Regions from separate parts of the Homo sapiens genome. Here region 1 is linked to region 2. The links are contacts of gene promoters, found by promoter capture Hi-C in blood cells and fetal thymus (Javierre and others, 2016). All regions are on one chromosome and are shown on one strand. The core of a region is centred on a gene start or on the middle of the fragment in contact, and the rest is flanking DNA. Distances in the headings are between cores, read along the strand shown.

Region 1 (5,772 bases), core at 2,274-4,773, 2.2 Mb before region 2:
ATATGTTTATGTTGAATATTATTTATGCAGGGAAGGAACTATGTTTAAAGTTTTATGGCTATTATAGAATTAAAGAGCTTCAAGGTAACATCTAGAAGTTGTTCCCAAACTTTGGAGGGAATCAGAACCACATGGGGAGCATGTTAAAAATGTGAGTAACATATCTAATAATTCCTTCTACATTTATCAGCAGACATACTTCTGTAATGAAGAGCTTTCTCCCATATACAGCTATTTTTGTTGCCGTCGTTTTTACATTTCACTTCAACATAGATTCTTCCTTAATGTGCCATATTCATTACTATCATTCTGTTTGTTGTTTTGATATCCAAAATTTGGCCACTATGAGCCTCTTCAAGCTGACTCCTATATTCTTTTGACAGGTCCCCTTTGTCCTTAAGCATTTTTTGTTTGTTTGTTTTTTGCCTTCTGGCAGGATTAACTTATATTTTATCTGCCTAGTCCTGGTATCAGCCATTCCTTTAAAGATCCCTGATTCCTTTTAGTAAGAAAGGTCACATAGGAACCAAGATCTGGAGAACAAGTAAGAAAGGTCACATAGGAACCAGGTAAGCTTATTGCTACTAAGGAAGACAGAAGGCGTTCATACTTATATCACCAATTCAAACCTAACATCATAAGGTACTTCCTTACCTTTCCTTATTCACATTTGTATCTCCCAATAAGTGAGAAATTTGGTTTTCAAAAATACCAATAGATTAATTCAGTTTTCTGCGTTCTACAGTATAAAAGGAAATTGTTTCAGAATTATTGTTTCAATAGCAATACCAACAACAAAACTACCGAACAAGTTCAAAATTTCTTTGCAGTTTGTTTTGTTCTTATATATCCCAGTAAAAGTGCACAAAGTACCACATAGATGCTTGATCTAATCTACCATCTAAATACAGGCAAACAGGCAGATTCAGACTATGGGATATTCAAAAAAGCAAGTGGCTTGGGTTCTTCAAAAATGTCAAGTTATGGAAGACAAGAAGCAGGGTGGAATTGCTTCAAATGAAAGAAAACTAAAGCAACATGAATACCAAATAAAAGGCAAAATCTTGGATTAAATCATCAAAGAGGAACTACAAGGACTTTTGTGTGTGATGAAGAAATTTAAATATAGATTATATTTGAAAATATAATTGCATCAAAGTGAATTAAATTTCTTAAGTGTGATAATAGTATTGTGGTTGTGAAATGTCTTTGCTCTTAAAGTATATGTGCTGATGTGTTTAGGGGTGACATGATGTCAATAACTGACTTTCAAATGGAGAAAGAAAATAACTCTCTAGGAAATATGGTAAACTATAAACTAACTTTTAAATATAGAGACAGAAACAAAGAGGATGTAACAGCAAGAGAAAGAGATCCAAATGTGGAAAAATTAGCAGTAAGAGAATCTAGTAATGAATAAATGGGTTTATGCTGTATGATTCAACTTTTTGTAGGTTAAATTTTTTTTTTCAAAATAGAGTTGGGGATAATAATGCAGAAACCTGAGCCCCACCTCAAAACATTCTGATGATTGCGATCTTAGTGTCTGAAAATGTAAATTTTATCAACAGGATTCTGATGCAGATAAGATAGCATTTTAAGAAAGATTAAGAAGATACATCATGGAAACTCAAGGCCAAAGACTCTTCAGGATCATATATCCTTGGCTAAAGAAACAATTTCTTTTGCCAAGCCAACACTGAAATTTCCTCTACCAAGGAATCAGTGGTTCTAGATCAGTCAAACCCAAGAAGATAGAGGGTACTCAACAAATATTTAATAAATGGTTGGGCATGTTGTCTCATGTCTGTAATCCCAGCATTTTGGGAGGCCAAGGCGGGATGATTACTTGAGGTCAGAAGTTCAAGACCAGCCTGGGCAACATAGCAAAACCCTGTCTCTACAAAAATAAAATAAAATAAATAAACATTAGCTGGGTGTGGTGGCACAAACCTGTAGTCACAGCTACTTGGGAGGCTGAGTAGAAAGGATCACTTGAGCCCAAGATGTCCAGGCTGCAGTTAGCCATGATCACACCACTGCACTCCAGTCTGGGTGACAGAGTGAGACCCTGTCTCTTAAAAAAAAATATTGCTGGATAATTGTGAATGCTTAGTAGACTAGAAAAACAGAAAGGAACTGATTTAGTGCCCCATGATTGTTACTCAGGTATTTTCAGATACTTTCTCTGTTGTAGTCTTTCCAAGAAACCAGTAAGATATAGAATGATAATTTATTTTTATGTATAATAAAACTCAGGTTGAACAACTGTGAAGTCAAACTACCTAGATATAAATTCCAGTTACTTAATTTACTGACTCTGTAATACTAGGAAAAGTAACTTTTCTAAGCTTCCATTTACTTGGCTTTAAAATAGTGTTTCCAAATTATTTTTATCTCATAGGATTATTTTAAAGATTAAATAAAATCGTGCATGTAAGGCACTTGACACAGGACTTACCTAGAGTAAGTGATCAATAAATATTAACTAGTCTTACTATGTCTGAGATCACTGAGCTAATAAGTGGTAAACAGCCTAAAGTAAATAGCTTAAGACAAGTGGAAAGATTATTTTCTCTATATTTAGTTAAAATAATAGTGTAATGAATATAAATTCACATTGAATTCTTCAGCTATTTCTTTTCTCCCTTTTCCCTTGCCTCCCTCTCTTTCCTAAAACAAACTGAAATTTTTATCCTAAGGCATTACAGTTTCAATGTGTACAGGATGCTGAAGTTTCATAGTAAAGTGCAAAGACTGGCAAACTATTTTCCATGGACTAGCTACTTGATTTCATAAAGTTTCATTGGAACACAACCACACACATTCGTTTACATGTTGTCTATGGCTACCATTCATGCTACAATGGCAGGCAGGGTTGAGTAATCCTGACAGAGACCATAAGGCCTGCAAAGCTTAAAATATTTGTAACTTGACCATTTACAAAAAAAGAATAACACCTGCTCCAATGTCTTAAAATGCTTAGAAAAGGACTGGAGCAACTTTAAAAGCAGGTAAATCTGGAAGTTAGGGTAAGGGGCGCCAGTCTGGCAAATACAGTCAGGTATCACTTAATGATGGGGATATGTATTAAGAAATACATTGTTAGGCAATTTCTTGTGCAAATAGCATAGAAGGTACTTAAACAAATCTAGATGCTGTAGCCTACCACACACCTAGGCTATGGACTAATTCCTAGACTACAAAATTGTATAGCATGTTAGACAATTATAACACAATTGTACGGGATCACTGTCATGTATGTGGTCCTTCCTTGACTGAAACGTCATTAGATGGCTCATAAATGTAATAGACATTCCAGTCTATGCTATGGTGGCTATCATAATTATAAACAAAGGAAATAAAAAAGAGAATCTGAACCAACATTTGAGAGGGCCTGCAATTAACCAGTTTGCCATATCTTCTCATGCAAGCCTCATATCAACTCTGTAAAGCAGAAGTCATCCCAGTTTCATAAATGGAGACTTGGAACACAGAGAGATGAAGAAACCTGCTCAAGGTCACATTAAGTGTGAGTGGAAGGATTGGAATTCAGACTTAAGTTTGACAGAGTCCACATCTTGTCCCCTTTCCACTGGGCTTCAGTCAATTGAAACTCAAATTTTACATTCCTGATTCTCTGAGTCAGGGCCTTTAAAATTATTTTTAAAGGGAAGCCCCCAAGAGGATTAACTTCTCTTCTGAAGAGTGAGTCTGTCAGCCTTACATGGCTATGCTTTAAATTCTGTCCTTTAGGCTTCCTGAAAGGTTAAAAAATTGTGGCTGTTCCTCTTAGTCACCAACCCCAATGCCCCCAAGTCCGATCAGTGTTACATTGCAGTAGAAATTTCAGTAAGATTGCAAAACCTTTTACTGCCTTTTACTTTCTTTCCAGAAAGTTAACCAACTGAAAAATTTGTTTGGGGATATTGGGGATCCCTTCCTTCCTACTCCTCTCTCTCCTTTCTTTTCTTCATTCTCTCTTTTTTTTTAAGGGAGTGTTTCGTTTTGTATTTTCTACAATAAAATCCACTTAGAGTGAACTTAGATTTTGTCACAAAACATCCTTTAAAACCAGTGAGTTCTGAAATTCTTTCAAGGCAAAAATTATTATGATTCTTTGGCAAATGTGGAAGCTTGTAACCGAAGGAGAATGACGGTAGGTACATATTATATTTACATACATCACATATGTGATTATATCAGAATTTTGTTATTTATTTATTTATATTTTTTGAGACAGTGTCTCATTCTGTCACCCAGGCCAGAGTGCAGTGGTGTGATCACGGCTCACTGAGGCCTCTACCTCCTGGGCTCAAGCGATCCTCCCCACTCAGCCTCTTGAGTACCGAGGACTACAGGTGCATGCCACCATGCCCAGCTATTTTTTGTATTTTTTGTATAGATGGGGTTTTGCCAGGTTTCCCAGGCTGGTCTCAAATGCCTGGACTCAAGCAATCTGCTTGCCCCGGCCTCCCAAAGTGCTGAGTTTATAAGCATGAGCCACTGCACCTGGCCAGAATGTTTATTCTTTGCCTTCAAAAGGAAACATGTCCTCTTTCAATTTTCTTGAAACAATCTTCCCTCTAGCCTTCTATTCAGTTTTCCAAATTTTGATAGAGTCATAACTATAGGAGAGATATGTCTCTATTACAAGAAAACAATGCAAGTACCATAACAAATGGCCCCATGTTTGGGGAATAATCAGAAATGGTGAGAGAGATGTGCAAAACTAGGGAGTACAAACTTCACATAAAGGGGCAGCACTGCTTAGCTCCAGCCAGCAATTGCTGCCATTCAGGAAAGCACAGGGTTCAGATCTTCCAATTTTCTATGATTGTCAAGAAATATACTTTTAATTGATTTTTAAAAATTGCTCAAATTGTAAAAAATATCATTTGGCCCCACAAATAAAATAAAAGGCAAGCAAACCAAAAAGACTCTTGCAGACTGGATTTGGTCTTCAGATCATGAATCTGTACCTCCCAATTTAAGTAAGTGAATTGGAGGTCTGGATTTCTGTATGAGTCTCCAGGCTGTTTGCATAGGGCAAGTCTTGCCTCAACACTGTCATCCAGTCTCATGTTCTGATAGAGTGAAGGCCCTGAGTTCCAAGGACCACCCGCCCCTGCTCATACAATTAATGCAACCCTGCAACCCTGCAAAAGAGGCTTCTTGGCAGTGAGCCAATTGGCCTTCCTTCTGCTTCATAGCATGCTCCATTGACCTGCACCAGTGCTCCAACGCTCGGCAGAAATAAGGATGGCAGACACTTTGTTTTCTGCTGTATGATTCCACGTGAGACTAACTGCTTTTATATTAGGTTCTTTCAAAAAGGCAAGAAACAACTATCAGATAGTAATTTTCCACCTTTTTCTGAACTCCCAGTTGTCAAGTGACGAAGACTTCCACAGACTAGCAGTAGAATCAAATGTAAAAAAAACAAAACAACATTATGGAAAAAGCTTTAAAAATGGCACTTGGATAGAGACGAAGTTTGGGTTTACTTTAATCTATAGGGATGCTGGAATTCTCCTGATTTGGTTTGGCCATGTCCCCACCCAACTCTCATCTTGAACTGTAGCTCCCACAATTCCCATGTGTCATGGGAGAGACCTGGTGGGAGGTAATTGAATCATGGGGGCGAGTCTTTCCTGTGCTGTTCTTGTGATAGTGAATAAGTCTCAAGAGATCTGATGGTTTTACAATGGGGAGTTTCCCTGCACAAACTCTCTTCTGCCACCATGAAAGTCAGGCTTTTGTTCTTCCCTC
Region 2 (5,720 bases), core at 1,720-4,219:
CAAAATAAAGTTCAAACCTCTTAACATGACCTACAAGGCTCAACTATGATCTAGCTTTAACCCACCTTTCCATCTTAGCTTTACTACACCCAGCCCTGGCTATCTCCCTGCTGTCATCTACTAATCCTCACCCTACAGCTGACCCTGTGCCAGCTGGCAACCCAGTCTTCTTCCTGTTCCCAGCTCCTACTTCTGAGCCTTTCACTTACTAGTCCTTCCTGGAAGGTTGTCTCCAGAGCCAGATCTACCCAAAGCTGGCTGGCTGGCTCCTCAGTATTCCAATTTCTTCAAATGTCTTCTCTGAGGCCTTTCTGGGTGGAACACCCTATCAAATATTACACCCCTTAAAACACGTGCCTCTATGTCTTCACAGGCTCTGAAACCTTTTCAGTCCTATTTACTATTGTACCCCAGTGCCCAGCACACAGCAAGTGCCCAATTACTTCCAACAACTCAGTTAATATATAAGCACCTACTACGTCCCAGGCACTATTCCAGGTAACAAGGACAGTGGTGAACGGCTCTCATGGAGCCTTATTCTCTGAGGGGAAGCAGACTAATAAATACCAAAGGGTAATATGTAGCAAGAAAAATGAAGGATAAGGCCAGGCTCAGTGGCTCACGCCTCTAATCCCAGCACTTTGGGAGGCTGAGGCGGGTGGATCACCTGAGGTCAGGAGTTCAAGACCAGTCTGGCCAACATGGCGAAACCCCGTCTCTACTAAAATACAAAAATTAGCTGGGCATGGTGGTGTGCACCTGTAATTCCAGCTACTTGGGAGGCTGAGACAGGAGAACTGCTTGAACCCAGGAGACAGAGGTTGCAGTGAACCAAGATTGCGCCATATACACTCCAGCCTGGGCAACAGAGCGAGACTCCGTCTCCAAAAAAAAGAAAGAAAGAAAGAAAAATGAAGGATAAGGGATAAGGGAGTGGAGTGAAGGACGGGCTATTTTATGTACGGCCATCAGAGAAGGCCTTGTCAACAAGACGGCATTTGGGCAGAGATCTGAAGAAGGTTAGGAGGTAAACAACTGAGCCACGGTTATCTTCCTCAGGCAGAGAAACAACATGTGCAAAGGCCCTGAGGAGAGATCCAGATAAGCACTGAAGTAACAGCAAGGATCTCATTGTGGAGCCTAAGGTACAAGTTGGAGAGTAGTAGGAGATGAGGTCAGAGAAGCAGCAGGGGCCTTGCAGGCCACTGAAAGGACTTGGATTTTACTCATTAAGAAGACATGGTAGGATTCTGGACAGAGGAAAGACAGGACTTGATGTAGGTTTTAAAAGGATCACTCTAGCTGTCTAGAGAAAAGATGGAAAGGAACCAGATTGCAGTGATAATGGCTTGCAATGGAGAATGAAAAGGGATTGTATTCTGGATATATGTCTCAAGTAGAGTCAATAGGATTTGCTGACAGATTGTGGGGTGTGAGAAAAACAAGAAAAATAAAAGATGACTCCGACAATTAACTTCAGCTCCTCTAATAACGGAGTTGCTATTCACTTCTAAGGCAAAGGGGGAAAGGGGATTCAGTTTTGGACACGTTAAGATGAAGATGACTCTTAGTCATCCAAGTCGTGATTTCAAGTAACTGCTGGATGCACAAATCTGGAAATAGGGAGACAGATCTGGACTGAAGATATTTATATTTATATTTCAGAATCTCCAGTTTATAGAAAGTATGTAAAGCCCTGAGGCTGAATGAATGAGACCACCTAAAGCTAGGGAGAGTCTATAGAAAAGGTCCTATAACTGATTCCCAAGGCACATCCTAACATTTAAAAGTCAGGAAGATAAGGAACCAGCAAAGGAAACCAAGAAGTAACACCCAGTGAAGACAGGGAAAGACAAGAAAATGTTATCCATAGGCCAAGTAAAGGGCTGAAATTAATGCCAGATCTTGCTATCTGACCTGCCACTGATTGAAGTTTTAAATCAGAAATTGGTGAATACAGATAACCTTCAGAAAACTGGCACTCTCTTGACAGAAATGTTACTCTGGACTGTTTCCTTCATGCTTAAGAAAATAACAAGGCCTTCCATTTCTGGACAAATGTACTCTTTGCCCATTCCTTCGTACATTCTATTACTACGTGGGGGACACTAAATTAGGTCTAGAGGGAAATGCAGAACAATACACTCGTTCTTTGTATCTCTGACTTTAAATCACTCCTATAGGAAAACCAAAACAAAAAAACTCCATAAACGTGAAAGGAACTCAGCTATAAGTTGGTGAAGTTGACACCTACAGGCCACCCACGTGGGTGACAGAGGGAGGTCAGAGGGCAATGCTCCAGGCGGACCTAATCGCCAGCGTCCAACAGATTGACAACTACCAACGACTAATCTCACTGCTTCCTTCACTGAGTGCGAAGAGCGGGAAGCACAATCTCACTATACCAGTGAAGTCAACCCCTCCCCACCAGGCCAGCCCACAACTCCAGCTATCCAGCACCCCGCTCCAGATCCCAGAGCCTCCCCGGGCCCAAAGGACCCCGCCCTAAACCGCCGGCGCCGGACCCACTACAAATCCCAGCAGGCACCGCGCGCCCGCAACATGCCAGCCTACGCTTAGCCGCCGCTGGGCCTCCTGGGGCCTGTAGTCTCCACGCCCCCCGTCTCCGGTAAGTACCTGAAAGCGATAAAGGAAGGCTTCGGGCCAGAGGAAGAGGTAGGCCGGGCTGATGAGGCCGAGTTTGCCGACCAAGGGCACGGCGACGGTGGCGGCGAACCAATAGCGCGTGATCGCCGGGATGCTCCTGAACCAGTCTCCGATGTCCGACATCTTCGACCCACAGGTAGCCAAGATGCACAAGACCGCCCGACTCCCCGTGCCGACCCCCTCACGACGCGGCCGGCTCCGCGACTGTTAGGTGTCTAGGTGGAAGCCGCCGAAGCCGCGATGCAGAAGGCGGAGACGGGCGGACGTGGCGCCACCGAATTCGGACCAGCGAGGCAGCCTTCTGAGGCGAAACTTCCCCTTCCGGCGACCGCGGACGACGTGACCAGAAGTCCCGCCGCTTAAAGGGTAAGCGCCGATTTTACCGCCCGGCCGAGGCTCGGCGTCCTGGGGGGCGGAGCCAGGTAGAGCGACTACACGACTGGTGGGAAAACAGTGGTTGCCTGGATCAACGGCAAACGCTCCGGCCAGTGGCGAGGCCAAATGCCATTCACCTAGTTCTCAGAGTTTTAATGCGGCTGGGTCCACCTGGAGGGTATTTAAAGGGGACGAAGGCAAACGAAGTGTCTAGTTCCTCGTCTGCTTACTCATTCCACAAGTGTTTGTTGGGCACAGTTCTAGACACTGGGCAGCTGCGGCTGTCAGCGCTGTCGTGGTACCCTCTCTCCTGATCTTAACATCCTCATTGGGATAATTTATAAACAAATAGATAATGAAGTAAGATAATCTCAGAGAGTGATTAGAAAAATAGGAAAATGAAATGAGATGATGAGGTGGAGTGACGGGGTGGGGGTGCGGCAGTGTGAGGACAGATGGCTACCTTAGGTATGAACTGGGCCAGCCAGGCAAGAGATCTGGGGGAAGAATTTTCCATGCACAGAGAAAAGCCGCTCTAACTAGGTTGGAATGTTGGAGGAACTAAAAGCCAAAATGATCCATCTTGTCTAATTCAACTTGTATAAGAAGGAATCTTTAAGAAAAGATACTGGCCAGGCGCGGTGGCTCACGCCTGTAATCCCAGCACTTTGGGAGGCCGAGGCGGGCGGATCACGAGGTCAGGAGTTCGAGACCAGCCTGGCCAACATGATGAAACCCCGTCTCTACTAAAAATACAAAAATTAGCCGGGCATGGTGGAGGGCGCCTGTAGTCCCAGCTACTTGGGAGGCTGAGGCAGGAGAATCGCTTGAACCCGGGAGGTGGAGGTTACAGCGAGCCGAGATTGCACCATTGCACTCCAGCCTGGGGGACAAGAGCCAGACTCCATCTCAAAAAAAAGAAAAAAAGAAAAGATACTGAGTAGAGTTTCCCGTTGTTTTGGGATTTGGGGCCAGCAGTTTAAGATTGCTAAAGTCTTCCAATAAAGAGCACCAGGAACAAACCTGTAGTCAACAAAGTTAGATTTATTAACTTGCTGCAGCAAGGGAGACTGCACTCCAGAGGAACCTCAATGCCTCTCATCAAACGGAAGTGTCATTATTGGGTTATGGGAATGGGGGGATTTTTTGGTAAGAATTAACTGGAGCAGTGTTTGATAGACTCGAAGCAAAGCAGAGCTGTGTGCAGCATCAGGTTAACATCAGACCTGAGTAGGAAGCAGGCTCTTTCCTTGGAAATCTCAAAATTACGACAAATGTGAAACGTTGGGTCTGAAAACTCTATCTAAAGCTTTGTACCTGTATTGAAAATCCTGTGTCAAAGTGACCTGTATGGCTCAGATGCTCTGGACAAGAATGGGATGTTCCATTCACACGGAAAGGATGTCAGACAGCAGAGTTTCCAACATTCCATAATTTTAGAGAATATTTGTCAGCACCATATCCTTGATGTTAATTAATAAAAACAGTTTTTTCATAACAAAAAGGCATTAAATATTCCACAGTGTAATGAGAGTATACAACATTTGGGAACCAATGGATAGCAAATCTACGAAGAACACAGCTGGTGGGAATATAAATTGATACAGCCTTACAAAAAGATAATTTTGATATAAAAGCTAGATATTTATATAAATAACAGATAATACTTGACGATATTGCCTGAGGTTTATTCTGTTTATTTCCCTCTACTACCACCACCATTGTTTTGTACCCACTACTCATAACCAAGGTACAGTGAAAGAAAACAGGGGTTATCTGGCTTAGGTGGAGGGCTAAGGAAAGTTTCTCTGATAAACTTAAAAGTACACGTGCATGAGAAAAGACAAGAACAAGAAAAATGTACACCCAATATCTGGCAGTGTTTATTTCTTTTTTTTTTTTTTTTTTGAGACGGAGTCTTGCTCTGTCGCCCAGGCTGGAGTGCAGTGGCGGGATCTCGGCTCACTGCAAGCTCCGCCTCCCGGGTTCAAGCGATTCTGCTGCCACAGCCTCCCGAGTAGCTGAGACTACAGGCGTCCGCCAGCACGCCCGGCTAATTTTTTGTATTTTTAGTAGAGACGGGGTTTCACCGTGTTAGCCAAGATGGTCTCAATCTCCTGACCTCATGATCTGCCCGCCTCGGCCTCACAAAGTGCTGGGATTACAGGCGTGAGCCACCGCGCCCGGCCTGGCAGTGTTTATTTCTAAGTTGTGCTCTAGAATTCATAGTGAATGCTCTGGAATTCAACTTCGGCCTTTAGAAACACTGAAGTTTAAATCAGAGCAACGGTAGGCCAGGTATGTCTGGTCTTTTCTTGTAACTTTACATTCAAAGGCTTTCTGGCTGGTCCGATGGTAGTGATTTATCAGAACTTATTAACATTAGTGTCACTAAAGTTGGTATACAACCCCCCACTGCTAAATTTGACTGGCTTTTAAAAATATTTATTATTTTTAAATAATATTGAATATTTATTAAATTTATTATTAATTTATTAATAATATTATTTAAATAATTATTTTTTAAAGGCTTTCTCTTTCTACAAAGTCTTAATAATCATTTTAATGACTAATATTCTACTAGTGATGTGGCAGAATCTTTTGACCATTTTCCTATTTCTGATACCTGTTTTTAAATACTATATATAGTTCTATAATGAATACCTTTATGCATATAC

What was found. Contacts are between HindIII fragments. The CHiCAGO score rates a contact against its expected background, and 5 or more counts as called.
Region 1: a fragment that was not itself captured here is called in contact with the fragment with the promoter of DERL1 in region 2 in 1 of 17 cell types (M0 macrophages); the score reaches 5.1 in M0 macrophages.

Annotation. Positions count from the first base shown.
Region 1 is chr8:120,820,853-120,826,624 of GRCh38, forward strand. No RefSeq gene overlaps it. Among named protein-coding and RNA genes, the nearest start is that of SNTB1, 12 kb to the left of the region's middle. The HindIII fragment of the contact is 1,221 bases long and covers 2,914-4,134 here.
Region 2 is chr8:123,039,333-123,045,052 of GRCh38, forward strand. It overlaps DERL1 (derlin 1), which reads right to left and starts at 2,970. Exons shown (of 8, transcript NM_024295.6): 1 at 2,638-2,970. The coding sequence starts at 2,790. It also overlaps the pseudogene RNY4P5. RefSeq lists an enhancer at 2,380-2,919. The HindIII fragment of the contact is 6,787 bases long and covers 1-4,349 here.